4 separate regions of the Homo sapiens genome follow, and all the other regions are linked to region 3. The links are contacts of gene promoters, found by promoter capture Hi-C in blood cells and fetal thymus (Javierre and others, 2016). All regions are on one chromosome and are shown on one strand. The core of a region is centred on a gene start or on the middle of the fragment in contact, and the rest is flanking DNA. Distances in the headings are between cores, read along the strand shown.

Region 1 (3,484 bases), core at 804-3,303, 290 kb before region 3:
AATATAGAGCTGGATCCCACATTTCAATATCTTCCAAAATATCATTTGTGTTGTCTTGGAAGGAGGGAATAATAGATACTCATTTTAACCTGTACTTTGGTTTTATTAATTTGTTACCAATAGTTATGGATCCCTTGCAATGTATAAAGCATTCTAGCAAGAAGTAGAGAGAATACAAAAAGAAAAAAAGTATAAAATATTCATTTCTGTCCTCCAGGTGATTACAGTCTAGTTGATGAATTATTCCCAGAGTGTTCATAACAATAAAATTAGGCAAAGTGGATTATATGCCCTGTGAGTGAAATACATATTATTGTCCTCTGTAATTTAGAAGAAAAATAAATTGTGGCAAGGCTTTTTGGAGGTGTCATTTGGTCCTGGCCTTGAAATGTGGACAGAATTCCATCAATGGGGATGCGGAGGGGTGGCGGGGACGGGAAGTGCACAGAAGAAGCAGAGGTGAATATGAAAGAAGCAGAAAGTTGCCGGGCGCGGCGGCTCACGCCTGTAATCCCAGCACTTTGGGAGGCCGAGGCGGGCGGATCACGAGGTCAGGAGATCGAGACCATCCTGGCTAATACAGTGAAACCCCGTCTCTACTAAAAATACAAAAAATTAGCCGGGTGTGGTGGTGGGTGCCTGTAGTCACAGCTACTCGGGAGGCTGAGGCAGGAGAATGGCGTAAACCCAGGAGGCGGAGCTTGCAGTGAGCTGAGATCACACCACTGCACTCCAGCCTGGGTGACAGAGTGAGACTCCGTCTCAAAAAATAAAAAAATAGATAAAATAAAATAAAGAAGCAGAAAGTTCAGGTAGGATGTTAAAGAATCTGATTCTGGAAAGGACAATGGTAGCAAAATTGTGGGCACCTTAAATGTCAGGATGAAGCACTTCAAACTTATGCAGGTAAGAAGGGTGCCATTGGAACTTTTTGAGAAGGGGAATCACATGGTTAACATGGCAACTTGGGAAAATTATTCTTGTCCTTGGTCATGCAGAAGGACATTGTCATTGGAAGGGAAGGAACTGGGAGCATAACAAATGGCTAGTCAGCTAATTAGGTGTACTAGAGGGCTAGGGCTGCCCTAACAAAGTACCACAGACTGAGTGGCTTAAATGACAGAAATTTACTATTGCACAGTTTTAGAGGCTGGAAGTCTGAGGTCAAGGCGTTGGCAGGATTGGTGTCTTCTGAGGCCTCTCTCCTTGGCTTGTAGACGGCCGCCTTCTTACTGTGTCCTCACATGGTCTTCTCTCTGTGCATGTCTGTGTCCTAATCTCCTCTTTTTATAAGGACATCAGTTATACCTGTTGGGGGCTGGCCTGTATGACCTCATTTTACCTTAATTATCTCTTTAAAGACCTGTCTCCAAATATAGTCACATTCTGAAATACTGGGGTTAGGATTTCAACATATGAATTTGGGGGAGACACAATTTAGCCCATAACAGAGGTAATAAAGGCTTGTATTAGGATGGTTTTCTGGGGCATGAAGAAGAAATCAATCTAAAGGAACAAAAGTGGGCTGACAACTCTTGGGGAGAGACTGGATATATGGGGAAGGGAGAAGGATTCTTGGTGAGGCTGCAGGTAGAGACTGCTTTTTTCTAAACAGCAAGGAAAGAAAAGGAAGGAAGCAAAAGGGTAAGGCTAGTGGCCACAGATAAAAGCTTTGTTTGTTAGTATAGGGCAGAGGTCAACACATTGTAGACAAAGAGGAAGGAGGCAGGAGACAAGACAAAAAGATGACCTAAGGAAGGATACAGGAGGGATTAACACGGGCAAACTTATTAGCTTTAGGTGGGAGTAGGGGGTGATCTTTCCATTCAGTTAAGATGAGAGAAAAAGGAAAGAGTGCAGATGATTGTGAGGATACATCAAAATGTAGAAGATGGAAAATAAAGGAACTCAACATGGTGGTCCCAATTTTTTTGGTAAAGCACAAGGCAAGATATGGTGGAGGCATCTGGATTCATTCATAAGATTGAGTTTTAAGTTTGTGAGTCAGGAAAGCCCGTTAGATCCCTTTTCTGCTGTGAGACCCTTTGTACTACATGTGAGCTTCCATGACCTGCTTGCTGCTCTCTGGAACAGGGACCTACTTATCCTGAGCACAAATGAGATAATGCATGTAAAAGCACTTTACAAACTGTAAAGAACCCTAAAACCATTGGCTATTATTATTATTTTATTGCTTTATCATGTGAGTGTGAAGATTACCCACAGCTAAAGCAGACCCTTCAGATCATTCTGGATCCAAATGGATCTCAACCTTCAGAGGTTCTAGGGCCCCTTCCTTGGACAAGATTGGACTGAAAAAGACCTAATCTCTATATATGTCAAGACCAGGCTGTGCAGATCTCTTCCCAAGACCTGGGCCAGCGCTTGCTTCCTGCTGTTGGAGCCTGAACCTGGTACTTTCATAACACAATGCACTAAAGCTTCTCACCAAAGCCTCCAAAGTAATTTTAAGCCCACGCAGTGAGAGGGGATGTGAAGCTAGCTGCCAGCACTTCATAAATTACTTCAGTTTCTTGCATTTTTAAATCAGAGTGTCATATTCCCTTCAATTCTAATATATCACTTCAGGACACAATGTCATTTTAAATTTTTGAAATATTGTAAAAAATATTCTTCACTTCTTTGGTACATATCAATGACTCTTATTACTCAAAAATTACCACTGTTACTCTCCAATTGATGAACAGGTTGGTTTCCAAAAGTTTATTTGAAGTCAACTGTTTTTCCCAAGAGGAAAATGTTCTACTGTAAAAATGATATACATGGCTGGGCACGGTGGCTCACGCCTGTAATCCCAGCACTTTGGGAGGCCGAGGGCGGGCGGATCATGAAGTCAGGAGATCAAGACCATCCTGGCTACTACGGTGAAACTCAGTCTCTACTAAAAATACAAAAAATTAGCCAGGTATGGTGACAGGTGCCTGTAATCCCAGCTACTCAGGAAGCTGAGGCAGGGGAATCGCTTGAACCCAGGAGGCGGAGGTTGCATTGAGTCAAGATCGTGCCACTGCGCCACTGCACTCCAGCCTGTGTGACAGAGCAAGACTCAAAAAAAAAAAAATAGATATACACGTTGGTTAGGCTTCCAGATCAACCTGCAAAATTTCATGTCACCTAAAATAGGATGGGACATCACAGCCTTACCCTATACTGTCCAGAGCTAATTTTCCTTCCACTGGGTTTCTCAGAAGCAGAGAGGAGATTCTTTCTCAGACATACCAATCTCATTGTCCCCACATTGGGTCATATGTCCATTTTTAAACACTTTCTCTAGGATGGGATGTGCTCATTGACTTAAGCCAATCAGGAAATGGGGAAGGTATACACTCTCCCTGAAGCTCCTGGACTGTATAGGAAATGGTCAATGCCTGAATGAAAAAGAAAAAGCAAGAGAGGATAAATGCTGGACAGCCAATGCAGCAATCTCGTTTGCCACACCTGTGCTAGAGAAAGAAGCAAGAGG
Region 2 (3,196 bases), core at 694-3,193, 340 kb before region 3:
GCTGGAGTTGAGAATGGGCCCCTTCAGAGTTTGCTGTTGGAGACTGGTGGGCAAGCCTGCCCCAGTGGCACAGATATGTATGCTACCAACATTTTTCCGCATGCACAGGGGAGTTCCCAGTGAGACAGACTGTAGCCAAGACTGGGCTCCCTCAGAATCCACTGTGAGAAAGAAGCTGGAAAACATGCCCCAGTGGCTCAGATGTATGTGGACAAAGGCCAACTCTTAACCAAGGATTTTAAACTGAATTTGGAATTCCTCTTACTCTAGGGCTCAACTCTTTTTAACTTTTCCTCACCAATTCAATGAAGAGGAAAAATTTATTTTTGTTAAGATAGTCTAGACCAAATCTGAAATTAAAACAGTAGTAAGTAGTTTGGGGAGTTTTAAATAAGATTCAAATTTATAATTTATTAAACAGATAAGTTATATACACACTATGCATATTTTAAACTTTTTATCAGAGAGGCCTGGATCTCAGATATTTCACTTGACTGAACTTAGTGTCTCTTCTTGCTTTTTTTTGTTTTTAGCCATTTATCAATTTATTATCCTGAAATGTCACAATAATTTAAAACTTCTTAAAAAGAGACTTGATCTTTAATAAAGCTCTGCTACTTTGTTATGCAGATATTATATAGAATCTCATTGCTCTTAAATTCATGACCTTGCTTTCTGATATAAACTTAATATGCAGAAGGCTGAATTGGTATTTAATTACTCTCTCGACTTTTAATCAAAGCATCTCTTTATTTCGCCTTTCCTTTAGTGCTGTAAAGCATGAAGTGTACTTTGATGGATTAGGACTGAACGAACAGGACTATAAAAGCCTTCACTGGTTACCCAGCTCCATTGAAGACAAACAAGAAGATGCAAGGAAAACTGATACCTGAAGGCTAGGGTTAGCCCAGTAAATGGATTTCCTGAGAGGAAAATATGCAAAATAACAAAATGACTGTCTTTCTAGAAGTAGCTTTTTAAAAAGCTAAATTTGAATTTGCTGAGATGATTTAATAAAATGCAGCTGGCCAGCAAAAGTAGACTCAGTGTTTTCTTAGAGTTGTACCAGTCCTGTAATTTCTGTATCTTGTTCGGTGACAGGCAAGAGCTATTGACATTCGGATTTCAAAGAGATGAAATGGCCTTGCTTGTAGGTTCTCTTTCCCTGAATGAATAATGTCAGCAGTGTAATTCTGGATAAATAGAAGTCTGATACCAGTTGACAAGCAAGGCAATTTTATTTATGTTTCTGGTCATATGGGTCACATAGTAGGATAGAGAGTCAGTAAGCCTCTCAAAATAGAGTAGGTTTGATTCATAAATAAGAGGATACAGTGGGGAGAAACCAGGGCTCATTGAATAGGTACCACATATGAGGCAACATCCTAGGCTCAAGGAGAACAAATGATGATGAATAAGATTTAGCTCCAGCCTTAAGAAATGTATTTATACTCTAATGGAGGAGACTGGCACAAAAGCTGATGATTTCTATATATATATATATATATATTTTTTTTTTTTTTCCTTGAGATGGAGTTTCATTTGTTGCCCAGGCTGGAGTGCAATGGCTCGATCTTGGCTCACTACAACCTCCGCCTCCCAGGTTCAAGAGCTTCTCTTGCCTCAGCCTCCAGAGTAGCTGGGATTATAGGCATGCACCACCACGCCCAGTTAATTTTGTATTTTTAGAAGAGACAGGGTTTCACCATGTTGGTCAGGCTTGTCTCGAATTCCTGACCTTAGGTGATCTGCCCGCCTCGTCTCCCAAAGTGCTGGGATTACAGGCGTGAGCCACCACTCCTGGCATATGGTAGTGTTTATTAAGCCCTGCACTATTGAGATTGTAGGCTGGATAATTCTTCGTTGTGGAGGCTGTCCTGATCTGTAAGACGTTTGCAGCATCACTGGCCTCTACTCACTAGACATCGGTAGTACCACCTGCACAGTTGATGACCAAACATATCTCCAGATATTGTCACACATCCCATGAGGGGCAAAATTGGTCCAGTTGAGATCTGAGGTGGTAGTGTTGTGACAAAGGTAAGTCTAGGACGCTCTGGGAAGTAAGGAAGGATGCCCAGATGGCCCTAGAGGAAGGTGGGTGGTCAGGGAAGGCTTCCTTGAGGAGGGGGCACTGTTCTTATGTGGAAACATGAAGGGTGTGAGCCATGTGGAGCAAAGGATCAGCATGAACAAAGGAGTGGCATTACAAAATGCCAAGGCATGTGTAGGGGAGCCAGCTGCTACCTCAGTACTTCTGGGATATCAAGTAGGTGTGTTAGAGGTGAACGGTGAGGCGTGAGGTTGTGATGCAAACATGCATGCAACTATGGTCTGCATGGACAGCTTGTGGGCACAGGTGTGTCAGTGGATGGTCCATAAGCAGTGGGTTGATGGGAACAGTCTTCTAGAACATTCTGGCCACAATGGGAAGGATGGATTACTGTGGCTGGTAACATGGCATCAGGACCCTTTTGTGCTGAGCTACTTGCTTTACCTGTGTCATTCCATTTAATCCTCACAATAGGCCTATACAAAGGAGGCACAATTATCCCCACTTACAGAGGAGGGCGTAGCAGGGCCGAGCAGATTCCCTGAGAAGGTGCAGGTGCTGAGGTCTTCTTTTTTTCTTTTTTCTTTTTGCCTTGAGATGGAGTCTTGCTGTGTAGCCAGGCTAGAGTGCACTGGCACGATCTCAGCTCACTGCAACCCCTGGAGAAGGTGCTGAGGTCTTCTCTTAAAGATAAAAGAGGCTTGGCTTGTCTGACAAAACTTTTTTCAGTGAGCTGCTGTGATGGAGGTCAAACCAGGGATCCTGTGGTCAGCCGTGAACAGGATGTATGCAGAGTCCTCTGGAGGGACTTGTAAGCAGATAAATATACAAATAGAGTAACACAGAAGCAATTAAAAACAAGCAGGATATTCAAGGCTCTCTTCATTGTTCTTTTCTCACCTGAAACTTCCATCAGGGCCCAAATGTTTGTTCATTTCAATGAACATTGATTGAGTGCCTACTGTGTCCTCGGGATTATTCCAGGGCTCTGAGGGAGACAAGGGGTTTGAAATAGAATTGGCCTGACAGCAAATGTGAGCTGAATGAACAGAGTGAGAGTAAACAAACTGAGGACAAATGATCTCCAAAGAGGATCTTGACTTTCAGAGGGAAGCATTTCAATTCGGATCTCTCTCTAAGAAC
Region 3 (3,305 bases), core at 238-2,737:
GAGAAGTGGCAGGACAATGTAAGCTCATATTAACAAGCAAATGATTAATATAGAGACTTCTAAAGAGCAGGTCTGGTAAGTATCTAGTAAGTGGACTTCCTGAAGTAAGAGGAGTGTTGGTTGCCACACTAAAGGCAAGTCTTCTAGTCCCCAAATTTGCCTTGGGAGGATGACAGCTGTATCTTTCTTGGTTCTGGTGTACAGTGGAGAACAGGGTCAAGATGAGTGTGGAATCCATTTATTTTTTTACGTGTTTATAAGCACTAGAAAGCAGTGAGCACTAAGCAGAGGACCCCTCTTGCGGAAAAAGTGCAGGAGAGCTCCTGGGTGCCTCTGTATCACCGGTTTGCCTTCTAGCCAGAATCATTGCTAGAACCCTGTCACTCAGTTACTTTGGTTCCTAATTTAACCTCTTCCCAAGCCTTCTATTGCGTTCAGTTAGCTAGGCCAGGAGCTTACAGCTGTCTGGTTGGTGCTGGCTCAATGTGCTTATTCCCTGGAAGATAGAAGGATCACTTACAAAAAAATTTACAATTAAAATAAAAAAATTATTTTTTGCTGAAGCATTGTAAGGTTTTTTTAATTCACTCAGACCCAAAATCGTAAAACTAAAATATTTCAAGACATTACTTGATTCACCCCCCACTTCTCTTTCTCCCCTGTTTCTCAGCACTTTGCACCAGATACAGAAACCACGGGTTATGTCCAAACCCTGGTTTTGGTGTGACCACCGCCTTCCGTGTACTGCCTGCGGCTCGCTTCGGGCCCACACGGGACACCGAGGCATGATGAGGACGCAGAACAGCAGAAGCGCGCCCTGCTTCCCGGGCGCCAGTGCTCGGGGCCAGCGGCGTGTACCCGGCGGGCCCGGCCGGGAGCGGGCTGGCGATCGCGGGGCTCGGCGCTCCCGGCTCCCGCGCCATCTCCCGGCGCCCGCCAACTTCGCTCCGCCCGCGGCGTAGAGAAGCTCGCAGCCCTCCGGAGCCTCAGCGATCTCCTGGCTCGCTTTTCCCGCAGCCGCCGAGCAGCGCAGGCCCGGCGACTCCGGGTGCAGCTGGCCCTGTGCGGTGACATCGCCGTCCGGCGCCAGGCTCGAAGCCGCCTGGCCGCGCCCGCGGGGTCGCAGGCCGCTGGTCCCGCCCGGCCGCGCTCACAAACTACTCGCGGCTCGTGACCCGGGACAAACTTCTGGCGGCGGCGCAGCCTCTTCCACAGTCACCCTCCCCAGAGCCAGCTACCAAAATAGAAGACGCGGCCGGGGCGAGGAGGTGGGCGGGGGGAGCCCGGTGGCCGCTCCTCCCCGCGCGGCTGACGCCCGCTTCGGCGGCGGTAGTGGCTGTGGCCGCGGGGCCGCCCCCAGCCGAGCTCCCGGAGGCGCTCGGGCGCGGGCCGGCGGGGCACGGGCGCTCACGCCCTCTAGCGGGCCGCGGCGGCGCCGGGCGGCCGTGACGTGAGCGCTCCCTTCAGCCGGCCTGCGGGGCACCGCCAGTCAGTCGGGGAGCAAGAGCCCCGCGCGCAGCCGGCGCGGGCTCGGTCATCGGCGCGCCGCCGCCCGGGGCTGGGCTTGGGGCTGCCTGTGGAGAGGCGGCGGGCGGAACGCGCGCGGCCACGGCCACGGCCACCGCCACGGCCACGGCCGGCAGCTCGGGTCCCGGGTCCCGGGCAGGGGAAGGGGAGAGGCGGCGAGCTCAGCAACCGGAACCGAGGGAAGATTTTGGCTCCGCGGGCTCGCCCTCCGCTCCCTCTGCCAGCGGCGCCAGACGCCGAGTGGGGCCAGGGACAGGGGAGGAGGACCCAGGACCCTGTGCCCGCGCCCCTGGAGCCGCTGGAGTTCGGACTTCTGCAACTGTTGGCACTTTGGGGGCTTGGCTTAGCGCTCTGCTGTTTACCCGTCTCTCCTCGCTGCCTCGGAACCAAAGCTCCCGGCCCCCTCCGCCCTCGCGCGCCCACCCACCGCCGCCGGGGAGCGGCCCGGCCCGCACTCAGCACCATGAGGGGACTTGGGACTTGCCTGGCGACTTTGGCCGGACTTTTGCTAACTGCGGCGGGCGAGACGTTCTCAGGTAAGCGGGACCGCCTCTGCCGCCCCCGAGGCGCGCGGGCCGGCGCGGGACGCCCGGGACGCCGACAGCTCCCTGGTGGTAGAGCCCTAAGGCTGGCGTCGGGGCCGGGCGGGGGGCGCGGCGGGCCGGACACCGCTTCTGCCTGTGAGCCGGGCGCTGGGCGAGGGGCCGTGGGGCTGGCAGGCACCCAGTCCTCGGGCGGGCGGAGCGGACGGACCCCGAGGGCGAGCTCCCCAGCCGGGACTGCCAGCTCGGCCGCCGTCCTTCCGCGGCCTGGGCTAGTGCTCAAGGTTGGGCGGCTTGCACTCTTGAGTCCCTGGCCGGCTGCAAAAGGAACAGCAGAAAACTTTGCTTGAAGTTCCCAGTTGCAGCCGCCGGGCCGCCTGGCGTAGGCGCTGCGCGGTCCCCGCCGACCCCGAGCAGCGGCCGGGCCCAGGCCGCTGGTGTTCGGCTGCGCCCGCAGCGATCGCCGGGAACTGGCGGCCGCTCCGGCGGCGGCGATCTCCCGGTGCCCTGCCCTCCCTGTCGCCCCCTGCCCGGCGCGGCTGGCGACCCCGGGAGGTCCCCGCGGTCGTGCAGCGTCTGCGGAGAGGCTGGGGGGAGTTCCTCGCCGGTCCCAGCGGTAGGGCTTGGCGGCCGCGGAGGGAAGCGGGCAGGTCCCCAGGCCCTGGCCACGGCCCTGCGCCCCGCTGGGCTCCCCCTCCCCACCCTCGTCCCCCTAGCGGAGCGCCGCGGCCAGCTGCAACTTGTTCATCCAGCCCGGCTGCCCGGGGGTCCCAGGTGGGAAGGAGAGGCACTGGCGGTGTGCGAGCAAGCGTGTGAGTGTGTGCGCGTGTGTGCCTGCACGCGCGCGCGGGGGCGTTCTAAGCCCAGAGGAACCCCTCACGGAGAGGATCTGTGGATCGGAGTCGGGGGTCCGGCGTGGGGGCGAACCCGGCACGCTGTCACAGGGGTTTACAACCAGGATGACCTTTATTACCTGGGTGACACAGGTGGATAGACGGCAAATGCTGGCCCATTTGCACACCTTCTTTCTAGTGTTTATTAGATTAGTTTCATTAAGGTCCACATGCAGTGGGGGCGGTGGGCTTTCTTTTTCTTTAATAAAAAAGCCTGCTCTTTGGTCTTAAACTTGGTTTTTGCAAAATAGGTCTCTGCGTTTGGGAACAAGTGAGTTGAATGAGTAAGTTGGGCTTTTTAAGAATTTAATGAAGAGGACTTTCATAAACAGTAAAGAGCATA
Region 4 (3,247 bases), core at 400-2,899, 300 kb before region 3:
GGTTTCTGAGTTTTGAATGGGTCATCCTGGAATCTTGAGAAGGGCCAGGAACAAGAGAAGCACAACATTAGGTTGTCCCTGGATTTGCTTTACAAAGTGGGTGTCCCAGCTATGGATAGGCTAAGACTGAATAGTCATACAGTGCAGTAGGCACATTGAGGACATCATTATCATTCCCTTTTATCCATTTATTGATTAGATAGTTAAAACTTTCAATGTTATCTTGAAGTTATCCAGTGATTCAGTGATATTTTATGTTGGAGGAAGGAAAATGTCAGAGGGTTTCTAATTTATTTTTTATTTTATTTTGTTATTATTATTATTTTTTAAATTTAGAGACAAGAGTCTCACTCTGTCACTCAGGATGGAACGTGGTGGCATGATCATAGCTCACTGTAACTTCTAACTCCTGGGCTCAAGCAATCCTCCTGCCTCAGCCTCCCAAGTAGCTTGGACTAAAGGTGTGTGCCACCACACCCAGGTAATTTTTAAGTTTTTTGTAGAGACGGGGTCTCACCAGATTGCCCAAGCTGGCCTCGAACTTCTGGGGTCAAGCAATCCTCCCACCTCTGCCTACCAAAGTGCTGGGATTACAGGCATGAGCAACCGCACCTGGCCTAAGGTTTCTAATTTTGTTTTGTTTTGTTTTTGAAATGGAGTCTTGCCCTGTCACCCAGGCTGGAGTGCAATGTTGCAATCTCGGCTCACTGCAACCTCCGCCTCCCGGATTCAAGTGATTCTCCTGCCTCAGCCGCCCGAGTAGCTGGGAATACAGGCATGTGCCACCATGCCTGGCTAATTTTTTATATCTTTAGTAGAGACGGGGTTTCACCATGTTGGCCAGGCTGGTCTCAAACTCCTGACCTCATGATCTGCCCACCTCAGCCTCCCAAAGTGCTGGGACTACAGGCATGAGCCATGGCACCCAGCCTTTTTTTTTTTTTTTTGAGATGGAGTCTAGCTCTGTTGCCCAGGCTAGAGTGCAGTGGTGTAATCTTGGCTTGCTGCAACCTCTGCCTCTGGGTTCAAGAGATTCTCCTGTCTCAGCCTCCCAAGTAGCTGGGACTACAGGCATGTGCCACCATGCCCTGCTATTTTTTTTTATAGTTTTAGTAGAGATAGGGTTTCACCATTTTGGCCAGGCTGGTCTCGAACTCCTGACCTCCAGTGATCCGCCCTCCTTGGCCTCCAAAGTGCTGTGATTACAAACATGAGCCACTGCGCCTGGCCTAAGATTTCTAATTTAAAAGGTCACCTGGCTAGCAGCTCCTGATTCAGTCTCCCTCAATGCCCATTTATAAGAAAAGAATATATTTGGAACTCTTAAAACTAGGACTGACAGCCAATCTCTTACCAGAGTTTGGGAAGACCTTCCACAAGCTGTAGAGCTAATGTCACTCAGTGGACAATGCAGGTCTGGCCTCAGGAATGGGTCAACTGGCTTCCATCCCTCTCCATGCTCCACACCGGGTCAGAGCCTCATCAACTGTAAAACCAGAACATGTCATGCCTCGACTCTCTAGGTGCTACTTTTTGACACAGTCAGATTCGTCCTCCCCAGATAGCTACTTCTGCTGTTAGATTGAGCTAGATAATTCTGGAGCTTCTGGAGGAGGCTCGTTCTGGGTAGTGTAGTGGCCCAAATAAAGCACCATGAATGGGGACAGAGTCCGGAAGAGCCTTGGCGTCTAGGCAGCTGCAAGGTTGTTATTTCTCAGATCCTCAAATTTTACAAAGGGTCAGAAGGTCAGACAGCAAAGACAGGAAAAGCTCCCTTCATAGATTAGCAAAGACATTCCAGCAGTAGGCTTCCTAGTGACAGAAAAGTTGTGTGTGTCCCCCAGCTCTTCCTGGGACAGCCACTTGGGAAGGGTGGGGGTGGGGACACACAGTGTGCTTGTTCTCTTGTGCTGGGTAGAGCTCTGCCTTCTTGGACAAGGAAACAAGAAAAAGGAGTAGTCTTTGAAAAAATCATATGGTCCTGATAAAGTCAGCCTCGTGCTAAAATTTCACTGGAAACAATGTTTTTCTAAAAAAAAAAAAAAAAAAAACCTAAAACACATTTTAGGAAACAATGATCATCCTTAGATAAAAAATCAAATTGCCTTTTTGAAATGGAACAAAATGTCAAAGGGAGAATAGACTGATATGGAAGCAGCCCAGATAAAGAAAATCGAGATAAGTAAAATAAGAAAGTATTAAAGGAAACGAGAAATTCAATGCTGAATTAATCCATGTGGGGATGGTAAATCAGAAATGACACCTTGGAAAATCTGATCCTTAGTGAGGGAGACAAACCTGAGACTCTCTCTGAGAATGGAGAGGAAAGGAAATCACGTGGAAATGGTGGGATGGACAGAAAAAAAGAAAATACAGCATTGGGGTGAAAGGGCATGAGATTCAGTGTCTCACGCAGACTTGAAGCTCAACCCCAGCACTTACAACATGTGCGGACCTGGGCAAGGCTTCCATCTGCAGTGCAGGGATAACAATATCTCCTCAGAGTACCACAGTTGGGACAGCAACAAATATATATGGGAATTCAGCATGACATATGGCATCTGGTGAACAGTGAACACGCATAAAAGGAGGAACAGAGACAGAAAGAAGTTAGGGCTGTTCCCCAGGAAGAAAGTCAAGTAGAACAGATGGATGGAATGGTCACCAAAGACATCATGGTGGGAGGGTGAGGGTGAGGTGGATATGGGGGTGGTTGGGCCTTTCCTGAGCCTAGGCTGAAAAAACGACCTGAGTGCAATTAGAAGGAGGTTACCAGGATGAGACATCAATGACACGAGAAGTGGTTATATTTTTGAATTCTGAGGATCAAGAAAACAAGACCCAGGCCGGGCGCGGTGGCTCACGCCTGTAATCCCAGCCCTTTGGGAGGCCAAGGCAGGCGGATCACGAGGTCAGGAGATCGAGACCATCCTGGCTAACATGGTGAAACCCCGTATCTACTAAAAATACAAAAAATTAGCACGGCGTAGTGGTGGGCGCCTGTAGTCCCAGCTACTCGGGAGGCTGAGGCAGGAGAATGGCTTGAACCCAAGAGGCGGAACTTGCAGTGAGCGGAGATCGCGCCACTGCACTCCAGCCTGGGGGACAGAGAGAGACTCCGTCTCAAAAAAAAAAAAGAAAAGAAAACTCAAAACCCAACAAGCATTCAGGCAGCAAAAATAGGTTACCTACAGAAGTTCAGAAATTAGGACGGCCTCGGGGAATCATTAAATACCAGAATCTGATG

The links. The method cuts DNA at HindIII sites, captures the fragments that hold promoters and counts their contacts. A CHiCAGO score of 5 or more calls a contact.
Region 1: a contact is called between a fragment that was not itself captured here and the fragment with the promoter of PTPRM in region 3, in 6 of 17 cell types (endothelial precursors, M2 macrophages, M0 macrophages and 3 more). The highest score is 12.1, in endothelial precursors.
Region 2: a fragment that was not itself captured here is called in contact with the fragment with the promoter of PTPRM in region 3 in 1 of 17 cell types (monocytes); the score reaches 6.1 in monocytes.
Region 4: a fragment that was not itself captured here is called in contact with the fragment with the promoter of PTPRM in region 3 in 6 of 17 cell types (endothelial precursors, megakaryocytes, M2 macrophages and 3 more); the score reaches 8.6 in endothelial precursors.

What each region holds. Positions count from the first base shown.
Region 1 is chr18:7,279,339-7,282,822 of GRCh38, forward strand. No RefSeq gene overlaps it. Among named protein-coding and RNA genes, the nearest start is that of LRRC30, 50 kb to the left of the region's middle. The HindIII fragment of the contact is 771 bases long and covers 1,669-2,439 here.
Region 2 is chr18:7,221,829-7,225,024 of GRCh38, forward strand. No RefSeq gene overlaps it. Among named protein-coding and RNA genes, the nearest start is that of LRRC30, 7.7 kb to the right of the region's middle. The HindIII fragment of the contact is 5,629 bases long and covers 1-3,196 here.
Region 3 is chr18:7,565,829-7,569,133 of GRCh38, forward strand. It overlaps PTPRM (protein tyrosine phosphatase receptor type M), which reads left to right and starts at 1,488. Exons shown (of 33, transcript NM_001105244.2): 1 at 1,488-2,063. The coding sequence starts at 1,991. RefSeq lists a silencer at 1,169-1,538. The HindIII fragment of the contact is 6,488 bases long and covers 1-3,305 here.
Region 4 is chr18:7,262,058-7,265,304 of GRCh38, forward strand. It overlaps LOC105371973 (a long non-coding RNA gene), which reads right to left. Exons shown (of 4, transcript XR_935118.2): 2 at 1,355-1,486. Among named protein-coding and RNA genes, the nearest start is that of LRRC30, 33 kb to the left of the region's middle. The HindIII fragment of the contact is 8,400 bases long and covers 1-3,247 here.